Regions from separate parts of the Homo sapiens genome. Here all the other regions are linked to region 3. Evidence: promoter capture Hi-C in 16 types of primary human blood cells and fetal thymus (Javierre and others, 2016). All regions are on one chromosome and are shown on one strand. The core of a region is centred on a gene start or on the middle of the fragment in contact, and the rest is flanking DNA. Distances in the headings are between cores, read along the strand shown.

The links. Contacts are between HindIII fragments. The CHiCAGO score rates a contact against its expected background, and 5 or more counts as called.
Region 1: the fragment with the promoter of MESP1 here is called in contact with a fragment that was not itself captured in region 3 in 1 of 17 cell types (neutrophils); the score reaches 5.0 in neutrophils.
Region 2: the fragment with the promoter of PRC1-AS1 here is called in contact with a fragment that was not itself captured in region 3 in 2 of 17 cell types (total B cells and naive B cells); the score reaches 5.5 in total B cells.

Annotation. Positions count from the first base shown.
Region 1 is chr15:89,749,423-89,753,508 of GRCh38, reverse strand. MESP1 (mesoderm posterior bHLH transcription factor 1) reads left to right here and starts at 2,260. Exons shown (of 2, transcript NM_018670.4): 1 at 2,260-3,000; 2 at 3,282-3,634. The coding sequence starts at 2,278. The coding sequence ends at 3,365. It also overlaps the pseudogene MRPL15P1. RefSeq lists silencers at 2,210-2,639, 2,700-2,989. The HindIII fragment of the contact is 7,264 bases long and covers 1,701-4,086 here.
Region 2 is chr15:90,964,266-90,968,614 of GRCh38, reverse strand. PRC1-AS1 (PRC1 antisense RNA 1) reads right to left here and starts at 2,246. Exons shown (of 4, transcript NR_051984.1): 1 at 1,937-2,246. It overlaps PRC1 (protein regulator of cytokinesis 1), which reads left to right. Exons shown (of 15, transcript NM_003981.4): 15 at 1,413-2,575. The coding sequence ends at 1,484. The HindIII fragment of the contact is 668 bases long and covers 1,791-2,458 here.
Region 3 is chr15:90,301,524-90,305,920 of GRCh38, reverse strand. No RefSeq gene overlaps it. Among named protein-coding and RNA genes, the nearest start is that of NGRN, 38 kb to the right of the region's middle. RefSeq lists an enhancer at 2,295-2,344. The HindIII fragment of the contact is 1,013 bases long and covers 830-1,842 here.

The DNA of each region.
Region 1 (4,086 bases), core at 1,011-3,510, 550 kb after region 3:
GGATGGGAATTCATGAGCTCTAGTACTTGAGGAGATTTTCATCTGTAGATGTTAGGATTTTCTTATCTACTATATTCAGCACCCATCCTGGAGCAAACTCAAAGAAAATCTGCCTTGGATCCTTCTGAGTACTGAACATTTGAAGAGTTCTTCTTTCGTGATATCCAGTAAATTAGAACTGTCCTTCCTGGCAAGCTCAAGTTGTGCTTCAGGAAATTTGGCAGGATCTGCCAGGTTCCCACGATTCTTTGCATTGGTGGAATATGGTACCAGTGCTTCAGAAGGAAGCATTCTTTTTGGAATGGGTTGTCTCCAAAAAGAATGGAACAGGTTTGGATAGAATTTCCAGACTTCTTGGATCCTGTAAGGCTGTAGTGACACCACCACCATTTTTTTCAATTGCAGCAATAGCTAGTTCTGAAGCCAACTGTACTTCAATATTAACTTTTTTTTTTTTTTTTTTTTTTTTGGACAGGGGGTCTCACTCTGTCATCAGACTGGAGTGCAGTGGCATGATCTCAGCTCACTGCAACCTCCACCTCCCGGGTTCAAGTGATTCTCCTACCTCAGCCTCCCAAGTAGCTGGGACTACAGGCACGTGCCACCATGCCTGGCTAATTTTTGCATTTTTAATAAGACGGGGTTTCACCACGGTGGCCAGGGTGGTCTCAATCTCCTGACCTCATGATCCACCCCCCTTGGCCTGCCAAAGTGCTGGGATTACAGGTGTGAGCCACCGCGCCCGGCCCAATATTAACTTTCACCTGAAAGGTGTCTGCGGCCTTTTCGACCAGCTGAACACCATAATCCTCTTTAAGTGGCTGAATGGTCACACCTCTTCCATTGACAAGCTGGGTTAAGTCAATAGGTTGAGTAGGATCAACACGACCCAAATCAGTAACATATTACAGTCTATTGATACTTAAAGGTTGATACTGGTGTCTGAAGCTAAGTCCTTCATTAAATCTGTATTTTGGGATTCCGATGTAAAATAGAGTCTGGCCATCCCCAAAGCCCAGCAGAGCCAGTTTCCTCTCTGCCTTTCTCTTTTATGGCCTCTGCCGCATTTTCTACCTCTTCTCCGACCTTTTGGTCGTCTCATGGGTTTCCTGGAGCCAGGATTCCGCTTTAAATTGGTCAGGCTCATGCGCAGCAGGGCCCAGAGCTGCCATAACCTGCGAAAAGAGTTTTATTTCTTCCTTTCTGACCTGTATGTCTTTTGTTTCCTAATTGCATAGCCTAGATCCTCCATCTGGTACAATGTTGAATAGGAGTGGTAAGAGAGACACCCTCGCTTTGTTCCTGCAATCGGGGGGTGGGGGGAAGATTTCAGTCTTTCACTACTCAGTATGAGGCTACCTGTAGGTTCTTTGTAGGAGCCTTTCATCAGGTTGATGAAATTCCTCTCTATTCTTAGTTTGCTGAGAATTTTCATCACGAAGGGTGTTGGATTTTGTCAAATGCCTTTGCTGCGTCATTTCCACTCACATTTCATTGGGAAAACCTGTTATACCTGTCCAATAGCGGCAGAACATCAGGTAAAGGCCAGTGGTGACAGCTGTGGCAACAGGCCAAGCTCCAGACCTTGCCAGGCTAGAGGTGGCCTGGGGTTGGAGCAGGCTTAACCCCCTCCCTCTGCTCAGAAGGTCCAGCATCCTGACCAGACTCGGCAGCTTATTGAATTTGCCGGGGTGCAAGCTTCCTTGCACTGTCCACATGTTCTTACCAGGGAAGGGTCTACCCAGGGCCATCCTGCCTCAAAGGAGAAGTGGTTTACTGTTTTCTCCACCTTTAGAGGGAATGAGGGTCCCTGCTCCTGGTCCTTACTCTACTCCACTGTCCAATTGGCGCATGCCCTGAGGCTCTCATTATACAAATTGGAAGCTAAGGTGCAAAAGAACTAAGAATTTGCATAAGGTCCCCAACAGGTGAAGGCAGGCCCCAAACCTAGGATCTAGATTTCGTTTTTCTGACCCCGCTTCCTTTAACCTGCAGGGCTGGCCCAACGCCCCGGGCTTCACCCAACACTGGGCGCAGGCGGGAAGGCCGAGAGGCTGGGTCGGGCGCCCAAGCGAGGGCCCAGGTGGGGCGAAACAGGCGCAGTCAAGGGGCTGGCACCTTGGCCCCCCGCCGTGGATTCAAAGGGTCAGGCTCCGCCCCCTCCAAGCCCCGAGCCCACTTTGATGTGCTGATGCGGCCTGGAAGGGGCCACTTCACACCTCGGGCTCGGCATAAAGCGGCCGCCGGCCGCCGGCCCCCAGACGCGCCGCCGCTGCCATGGCCCAGCCCCTGTGCCCGCCGCTCTCCGAGTCCTGGATGCTCTCTGCGGCCTGGGGCCCAACTCGGCGGCCGCCGCCCTCCGACAAGGACTGCGGCCGCTCCCTCGTCTCGTCCCCAGACTCATGGGGCAGCACCCCAGCCGACAGCCCCGTGGCGAGCCCCGCGCGGCCAGGCACCCTCCGGGACCCCCGCGCCCCCTCCGTAGGTAGGCGCGGCGCGCGCAGCAGCCGCCTGGGCAGCGGGCAGAGGCAGAGCGCCAGTGAGCGGGAGAAACTGCGCATGCGCACGCTGGCCCGCGCCCTGCACGAGCTGCGCCGCTTTCTACCGCCGTCCGTGGCGCCCGCGGGCCAGAGCCTGACCAAGATCGAGACGCTGCGCCTGGCTATCCGCTATATCGGCCACCTGTCGGCCGTGCTAGGCCTCAGCGAGGAGAGTCTCCAGCGCCGGTGCCGGCAGCGCGGTGACGCGGGGTCCCCTCGGGGCTGCCCGCTGTGCCCCGACGACTGCCCCGCGCAGATGCAGACACGGACGCAGGCTGAGGGGCAGGGGCAGGGGCGCGGGCTGGGCCTGGTATCCGCCGTCCGCGCCGGGGCGTCCTGGGGATCCCCGCCTGCCTGCCCCGGAGCCCGAGCTGCACCCGAGCCGCGCGACCCGCCTGCGCTGTTCGCCGAGGCGGCGTGCCCTGAAGGGCAGGCGATGGAGCCAAGCCCACCGTCCCCGGTTAGTGTCCCCTTCCCCGCGCCCCCTTCGTCCGTGCCCCCGCGCACAGCCCCACCGCCCGCCAAGGTGAGGACCAGGCACCCTGCTGCTCCCCGCCGGCAGCCTGGCCACCTGGCCACCATAGTATGCCCAGGGCTCCAAGAAGCGAAGGCAGGGAAAGGCCACGCAGAGGACTGGGTCTCCCCTCGCTAGGGGCCCCCTGAGAGTGGAGCCCACGAGCGCGGACACCCGCACAAGGCCACCAGTGCTTGAGGGCTGCGCTGTTCCGTCTCTCCCTACAGCTCCTTCCGGGCGACGTGCTGGCTCTGTTGGAGACCTGGATGCCCCTCTCGCCTCTGGAGTGGCTGCCTGAGGAGCCCAAGTGACAAGGGACAACTGACGCCGTCTCTGTGAGCACCGAGGCTTTTTGGCCTCAGCACCTTCGAAGTGGTTCCTTGGCAGACTGCCTTTCCTGGAAGAGGGCACGGGCGATCCCGACGGGGGCATTCCTGCGGGTGAGAGCCGTCCCCACCGCGGCGGCCCTTCTCAGCCCCTCCCTCCATGGAGGGACCCATAGGGCTAGACACTTTGAGGCAAGCAGGAGGCTCTGCCTAATGTGAATTTATTTATTTGTGAATAAACTGTACTGGTGTCAGTTGGCAATTTCTTCTTCCTACCCGTGGACACAGAGCTCCCTCTCTCCCTCCAAAGAAGAGCATGGGAGAGGTGGGAGGGGTTCTTGCAATCTTTAGCCCCCCGACCCCCACAGGCCCAGACCCCTTTGGCCTTACCCCCAGCCCTGGCTCAGCATCTAGTCCAGATGGGTCAGCCTGGAATGGGTGGGGAGGGACGTCCTGTGAGAAGGCAGCGGCAAGTAGAATCTGCTCATCTTTTCTTTGAACCTGGTGGGGAACTGGTTAAAACCAAAATATCTGTGTAGAAATACAACTCCATTATTGAGTATTTATTGTATGTACATCAGGTACCTATTATACTCAAGTAACCATTTTACAGAAGGATGAGGATCAGCGCTCAAGCCCAGGTAGGCCTCCAGAGTCCCAGCGCTCAGCTCTTGTGGGATTTTGCCAGCTCCATACATGTTGGGGC
Region 2 (4,349 bases), core at 997-3,496, 660 kb before region 3:
TCACCTTTGCCTCTTTCCATACATTGAGCTACTGAAGCATAGATGAAGCACTGGAAGCAAGTTTTTCCAGAATGCTCTTCACTTCCTAGTATCCTACTCTATATTTGCTAACACCTAACTACACTGCCTTTTACTTAATCTGTGATTTCTTCTCTCAATATTTTACTAGCAAGAGGAGAGGATGTTCCTCACCCTTGAGGGGATATTGAGTTAAACCCCTAGCCTGCCTCCCCTCTTAATTGCTGCAGGGATAGAGAATGGAACAGTTGGCCAAGGCTGCAGCTAGTTTTGATCACTGAAACTGGCTTCCTACTCCAGCATGTTTTTCAAATTACGTGGCTGGTGGTGCTTCTACCTTTAAAAGTGGGTGTGTGTCACTCTGGCTGATTGCTGGACAGAGGTCCAGCTTTCTCTTTTTCGCTTGTTCAACCAAGGCCCATTTTATCTGAGGCTTAAATGTACCTGCCTATCTGTGTGGCTAGTCCTAGGTAGGTTCGTCTGGTTTGGGTTGCTATGGCTGATAGACTCCACCAGGCAGCACCAAAGCCGGTAAACTAACCTCTGCTAATATCTGTCTTTCTCAATAGCCATTCATGCTTTATCTTTTGCTGCTCTACCATGTGCTCCAGCATGAGATCAAATCACCAGCAGGTTACAAGGCCTCAGCCCCAGGGATTGGTAGATATATGTTCTGGCCCATTGTTTTATAAAGGGCTCAAGAGACCAAAGCTTGTTGCCTACTTACCTTGACAACTCTAAAGTAGCTCTGTGAAGTAGAGTCATGCCTCGCTTAATGACAGGGATATGTTCTGAGAATGTGGGGCAATTTCATTGTGCACATATCAGAGTGTACTTAACAGTCCTAGACAGAACAGCCTACACACCTAAACTATATGGTATGGCGTTTTCCTCCTAGGCTACAAACCTGGGCAGCATGTTACAGAAAGAATACTGTAGGCAATTGTGGGTTTTTTTGATTCAGGCTATTCCTGGGATACTGTAGGCAATTGTAACGCAATGGTAAGTATTTGTGTATCTAAACATAGAAAAGGTACAGTAAAAATATGGTATAATCTTATGGGACCACCATAGTGTATGTGGCCTGTCGTTAACTGAAACATCATTATGCAGTGCATGACTGTATGAAGGATTTCTCTTCTGTGAGGTGTAACAGAATGGACTGGCTGAGGAAAAAGGGGTCACGGGCATGCGTGCACATGCACTCTGTCTGTGACTAATAGAATGGTGCTCAGAGTTCCTCACCTTTTACTCCTAACGCAGCCTATTGCAGGCTAGGGATCTCAGAGAAACTACCTTCAAGGGACCTTTTGCTGACACTTAACCAAACTTAGAAGGGTGGGCCATGTGTAAGAGAGGCAGTATGGCCACTGATGTTATTTATTTTTCAACAGCGAGAACTTTCAAAGGCTTCCAAATCTGATGCTACTTCTGGAATCCTCAATTCAACCAACATCCAGTCCTGAGAAGCCCTGATCAGTCAACCAGCTGTGGCTTCCTGTGCCTAGACTGGACCTAATTATATGGGGGTGACTTTAGTTTTTCTTCAGCTTAGGCGTGCTTGAAACCTTGGCCAGGTTCCATGACCATGGGCCTAACTTAAAGATGTGAATGAGTGTTACAGTTGAAAGCCCATCATAGGTTTAGTGGTCCTAGGAGACTTGGTTTTGACTTATATACATGAAAAGTTTATGGCAAGAAGTGCAAATTTTAGCATATGGGGCCTGACTTCTCTACCACATAATTCTACTTGCTGAAGCATGATCAAAGCTTGTTTTATTTCACCACTGTAGGAAAATGATTGACTATGCCCATCCCTGGGGGTAATTTTGGCATGTATACCTGTAACTAGTAATTAACATCTTTTTTGTTTAGGCATGTTCAATTAATGCTGTAGCTATCATAGCTTTGCTCTTACCTGAAGCCTTGTCCCCACCACACAGGACAGCCTTCCTCCTGAAGAGAATGTCTTTGTGTGTCCGAAGTTGAGATGGCCTGCCCTACTGCCAAAGAGGTGACAGGAAGGCTGGGAGCAGCTTTGTTAAATTGTGTTCAGTTCTGTTACACAGTGCATTGCCCTTTGTTGGGGGTATGCATGTATGAACACACATGCTTGTCGGAACGCTTTCTCGGCGTTTGTCCCTTGGCTCTCATCTCCCCCATTCCTGTGCCTACTTTGCCTGAGTTCTTCTACCCCCGCAGTTGCCAGCCACATTGGGAGTCTGTTTGTTCCAATGGGTTGAGCTGTCTTTGTCGTGGAGATCTGGAACTTTGCACATGTCACTACTGGGGAGGTGTTCCTGCTCTAGCTTCCACGATGAGGCGCCCTCTTTACCTATCCTCTCAATCACTACTCTTCTTGAAGCACTATTATTTATTCTTCCGCTGTCTGCCTGCAGCAGTACTACTGTCAACATAGTGTAAATGGTTCTCAAAAGCTTACCAGTGTGGACTTGGTGTTAGCCACGCTGTTTACTCATACAGTACGTGTCCTGTTTTTAAAATATACAATTATTCTTAAAAATAAATTAAAATCTGTATACTTACATTTCAAAAAGATATAGTGTGGTGTTTCCTTTTTTTCCCCAGTCACTTTTTAGTTGGTTGGTCTGTGTGTGAAAAACAAACACAAAAAACTAAAAGGACCTCCTGGAAATTTTTAGTCAGGAGTGTGATTTTTTTTTTTGAGTCTCACTCTGTCGCCCAGGCTGGAGTACAGTGGCACTATCTTGGTTCAGTGCAACTTCCACCTCCCAGGTTCAAGCGATTCTCCTGCCTCAGCCTCCCGATTTGCTGGGATTACAGGCACGCACCATCACACCTGGCTAATTTTTGTATTTTTAGTAGAGACAGGCTTTCACCATGTTGGCCAGGCTGGTCTTGAACTCCTGACCTCAGATGATCTGCCTGCCTCCCAAAGTGCTGGGATGACAGGCATGAGCCACAGCACCCGGCCGAGTGTGATTTTTAAAATATTCTCTGGTACATTTCTAAATTAAGAATATCTCTTACTCTAATTTTTTGGTGAGAAATATAAAACCTAACCCCTGATGTGTAGAGAGCAAAGGGAGTCCTAGGATGCTTCTGGCTTCAATGCCGTTTGTCTCAATATGGGGAGGCTGCCCAACTTCAACAGCGTTACTGAAGGAGGATGGACATAAACTGCACACATGTGAAGCGTAAGAGAAAAACCATCGCCACAGTCCAGTTAACCAAGTCTCTCTACCCCAGCAGTTCTTCCCACCCCTTTCTCACTCCTCCTTCCCAGCCTCACCCTGCCGAGCAACCACTGATTTTTTTTTTTTTTTTTTTTTTTTTTTTTGAGATGGAGTCTCGCTCTTGCCAGGCTGGAGTGCAGTGGCACAATCTCAGCTCACTGCAATCTCTGCCTCCCAGGTTCAAGGGATTCTCCTGCCTCAGCCTCCCGCGTAGCTGGGACTGCAGGCACGTGCCATCACGCCTGGTAAATTTTTGTATTTTTGGTACAGACAGACAGGGTTTCACTGTATTAGCTAGGATGGTCTCGATCTCCTGACCTCATGATCCGCCCACCTCGGCCTCCCAAAGTGCTAGGACTACAGGCATGAGCCACTGTACCTGGCCCACCGATTTGTTACTACAGATTAGTTTGCGTTTTCTACAGTTCGATGTAAGTAGAATCATACAGTATATATTTTTTTGGTCTGGTTCTTTCACTACTTTCAGATTTACCCATATTGTTGCTTATATCCATAATTCTTTTTTTTTTTTTTTTTTTTTTTTTTTTTTTTTTTTGCTTAGTATTCCATGGTGTTGATATACCAGTTTATTCGCCTGTTAGGTTTATTTTTCACATTTGGCTTTTCTCCAGTTTTTGGCTATTAAAAACAAGGCTGTTATAAACATTCATGTACAAGTCTTTGTATGGATATATTTTTTTTTCTGGATAAATACCTAGGAGTGAAATGGCTGGATCACATCTATGGTATGTGTACACTTAACTTTTTAAGAAATGCCAAACTGGGCCGGGCATGGTGGCTCACGCCTGTAATCCCAGCACTTTGGGAGGCTAAGGTGGGCAGATCACGAGGTCAGGAGTTCGAGACCAGCCTGGCCAACATGGTGAAACCCCATCTCTACTAAAAATACAAAAATTAGCTGGCTGTGGTGGCACACACCTGTAATCTCAGCTATTCAGGAGGCTGAGGAAGGAGAATTCCTTGAACTCAGGAGGCGGAAGTGGCAGTGAGCTGAGATTGCACCACTGCACTCTAGCCTGGGCAACAGAGCAAGACTCCATCTTAAAAAAGAAGAAATGCCAAACTGTTTTCCAAAGCAGTTGTACCATTTTA
Region 3 (4,397 bases), core at 87-2,586:
TCAGAAATATTTTCTCAGCTTTTACTCTCTTTTTACAGAGTAAGACTTGATCTCTTTTGTGAAGAGCTATTTCTGGCTAGCTTCAAACTACCATTTCAATTAGTGGCCATTGTTTATGCCCATGATGTATAAGCTGAACTGCCCCTGCATTCTTTATTATTTTTTTTGAGATGGAGTCTTGCTCTGTCGCCCAGGCTGAAGTGCAGTGGCACGATCTCGGCTCACTGCAGCCTCCGCCTCCTGGGTTCAAGAGATTCTCCTGCCTCAGCCTACCGAGTAGTTGGGATTATAGGCACCCGACACCAGGCCCAGCTAATTTTTTTTGTATTTTTAGTAGAGACGGGGCTTTGCGACGTTGGCCAGGCTGGTCTCAAACTCACGACCTCATGATCCACCAGCCTTGGCCTCCCAAAGTGCTGGGATTATAGGCGTGAGCCATCGCTCCTGGCCTGCCCCTGCATTCTATAATCCAGTCCCAAGGAAGGGGAGAAAAATGCCAGGAGAGCGTGGGGAAGAAAAAAGCAATCATCGCCCACCCACCAGAAAATCTCCCTGCTCTCATATTTACTCTTTAATGACAGAACTGGATTTATGTACACACTTAGCTAATGACATGTTTACATGTCTTGTCTCCTCTTGATCCTAAGGTAGTGTCTATTCCCTGCCTATGTCTTCTTGGTGCTCAGAACAGTGCTACATTTACCTATGGGTAGAAAATACAATTTGCTGACAAACTATAAACCAATAGAAATAGACCATGTATGAGACTAGTATTAAAGGTTTTAAAAATAGTCTGTTTTAAAAATACAGTCTGTCAAATTTATAAGCTTTAAATGACCAAAATTAAAGGAAAGAGTTAAAGAAAATGAGAGTGGTTTCTATTTTTTGAATCACATTTTCTGCTTTCATTGCCATATGCCTATAAAAGGAATTAGATATATAGTGGGTGTGAAGCACTTATGTAAGTTGTGTATATATATATATATGGTAGATTTATGTGTGTGAGGTATGTGTGTGTGTATTATGTGTGTGAATTAAGCTGTCAAGTCAGCACACACAAGGAGAAAATCATGTACAGAAGTGCTTCAGAAAATTGCGTATTATCACTTGAGGCTCCATACTTAGAAGCCCAAACACTAAGATTTAGCTTCTTTTGTTTCTATTTACATTCTCTCTGTCATCTCATTCTCTTTGGACCCCTGGAGGCTAGAGTCTAGTTTGAAAGGGAGGATACATGCAACAGGGTAAAAAATGTTTTCTTTACTTGTTTGTGCACTAAGATTTATGAAAATTAAATTCTTTAAAAATGCAACTTCACAGTGTGTGTGTATGTCTGTGGTGCGTGTGTATATATATACATTTGTTTGTTTGTTTGTTTGTTTTGTTTTGTTTTGGGATGAGTTTGGCTCTGTTGCCCAGGATGGGGTGCCTTGGTATGATCTCGGCTCATTGCAACCTCTGTCTCCGGGGTTCAAGTGATTCTCCCACCTCAGCCTCTGGAGTAGCTGGGATTACAGGGGCAAACCACCATGCCTGGCTAATTTTTGTATTTTTAGTAGAGGCGGGGTTTTGCCGTGTTGGCCAGGCTGGTCTCGAACTCCTGACCTCAAGTGATCTGTCTGCCTCAGCCCCTCAAAGTGCTGGGATTACAGCCGAGAGCCACCATGCCCGGCCCGTCTGTAGTATATTATAATCTATACACTTTGATTTTTATTATTTCACATAACTTTTACAACAAATCTGTAAAACACATTTTCCATTTACAGATCAGGAAACTAAGAGCATCAAAGTGATTTTCTCAGTGTAGGTGGTACTGGTAGGTTGGAACTGGGGAAGCAAGCTTACAGTTTGATGTTTACCCACTAGCACTACCTCCTTCGAAGCTGATCACAATCATAACAGTGAGAGAAGCTTTGAAACTCCCTTTTACAGCACTGGAAGGGACCTTAATTAAGACCTTTCTATTTACAGGGAAGGGAACTGAAGCCCAGAGATACCAAGAGTTGGCCCAGGTCACACCTTGGCGATTGTGGAAGGACTAAGAGAACAGGCCTGGCTCTGACACCCCGCCCTTTCTCCATCCCACCTCCTGCCGCCCCAGCCAGGAGGCCAGATCTCACAATGCAGTCAGAAAAATCCTTTGCTAAAAAATATTAAGACTAGAATGCTAAGAAGAAACATTAACAGTTCCATAGGAAAATGACAAAAAGCATGCAAAGGTAATTTATGAAGAAACAAATTTTTTTTTAAAGTTTGACTTATGTTGTCAAGTAAGAAATGCAAATTAAAAGAAAAACCATTTTGACTCAGTTGACAATGACTTTTTTTTTTTTTTAACCCATAGGTGTTGTTTCGAGAGGCAGGCCTTGCTGTATGACTGAAACACACTCTTGTAGCTGGTGGAAGTAAAACTATTACACTCTTTCAAGAAAGCAATTGGGCCGGGCATGGTGGCTCACGCCTGTAATCCCAGCACTTTGGGAGGCCGAGGCGGGTGGATCACGAGGTCAGGAGATCGAGACCATCCTGGCTAACACAGTGAAACCCCGTCTCTACTAAAAATACAAAAAATTAGCCGGGCGTGGTGGCGGGCACCTGTAGTCCCAGCTACTCGGGAGGCTGAGGCAGGAGAATGGCATGAACCGGGGAGGCGGAGCTTGCAGTGAGCCGAAATCACACCACTACACACCAGCCTGGGCGACAGAGCAAGACTCTGTCTCCCCAAAAAAAAAAAAAAAAAAAAAAAAGGAAAGCAATCGAGCATTGTGTATCTAGAACCTGAAAAATATTTAAGGCTTTTGATCTAACAATCTGAATCCTAGGGAAGCTTTCCAAAGATAATCAGGTATGTGACCAAAGAATATTACATGCAACATTATTTATAATGTTGAAAAATTGATCATCTCTTATGTCCCAAGTAGAATGGTTTAATAATGTAAACTGATGTGATGTGATGTGATATGATGTGAGCTGAGGTGAGGCAGCTTTAAAATCATAGCTTGGAATATTATTTGATAAACTGGGAAAAGGTTTGTGATATATTAAGTGAAAAGGAGATTCCAAAACGAAATAACCTGATTTTAAAATTAGTAGTAGTAGTGTATTGAGAAAAGGGTTGGAAGGGAATCAATTCAAGGCTATCATTTCTGGATAGTCAGTCTTGGAACATGCCCTGCTCTTAGTAAGGCATGCACTTTTATTTGTTGCTGGAATAAGCAAATGAATAAATTGTGGGGTTATGGATAAATCTTCTTCTCCATAGGTTTTGGAATTTCCCAAATTTTATACAATGAGAATGTATTTTTATCATAAAAACTAACCATTATGAAAAACATGTAGTATGTTGACACTCACTGAACAAGATAGAAAAAACCCTAGTAATTTTGTTCAATGTCCTTCAGTTTTACCATTTTCCAAAAGTTTAGAATACTGAAACCAACACTGGCTCATTTCCTTTTCATGGAGGGGGCTGGATGGATCCTTTAAAGAAGCCAAATCTTTTGTCATCTCTAGGCTTCAGGTCCCTCCTCCGGAAACAAAAGGAACTTAAGGTCCTTTCTGGCCTTAAAAAAGGGAGCTATAGATTCATTCCTGCTCAGTGGTCCTGGTTGATAGAATTCTTCCTTCATCAACAGCCTCTGCTAAAGAGCACCCTCAAAATTAAAGTCATGGTAAAAACTCTTGCCAGTTTTGCAGACATTTTTGTTTTGCTGCATGACTTTTGGACGAGAACTAGACTTGTGTCATTTCCATGTGAACAGACACGTGTTTTCCAGAGGGCAGACTGTGGTTAGGGCTGTGTCCCTGCGACCTTGTCTCTGCATAACCCAACGGGTCTGCATGAGAATAGGACTTTTCATCTCATTTTCACTGGTTTCATAATTAACCAAAGCACTTCGTATGTGCTAGAGGTCATGGTGGGAACGCTCAGGGTAAGGCTGTGGATGGTGCAGCTCAACCCATTTCTTATTTCTGAAGAACATTTTGAAGCATGCAGCCTATGGCTGGAAGGCAACTGAGTTCTATTCATAGAAAGGCAGCTCGATTTCTTTCCATGATATCCTTTCTTGAAAAAGTAAAAAACAAGCTGCTATGTGTCATCTCCAAGTATGGCAAATTGGTGCAGGAATTGTAAAAGAGCAGATTTCTTTACTGAGACCCATATCTGTTCCCCAACATCCCCCCTCCAAAGTGCGCCACCTCCAGTGGGCCTCCCTGTCATGCCCGGCCTGTGGACAGCCAGCCCCACCATCCCTCCCACCCCCTGCCAAGAATGGGGGGTGCCGTGTGGCCTGACAGTCTCTACCAGTCCTGCTCTCCCTTGGCTGACAAGCAAACCCATTTCTGGATGACGCGGAATGTGTCCTCTGCTCTCTGTGTTGTCTTTGGAGCTCAGG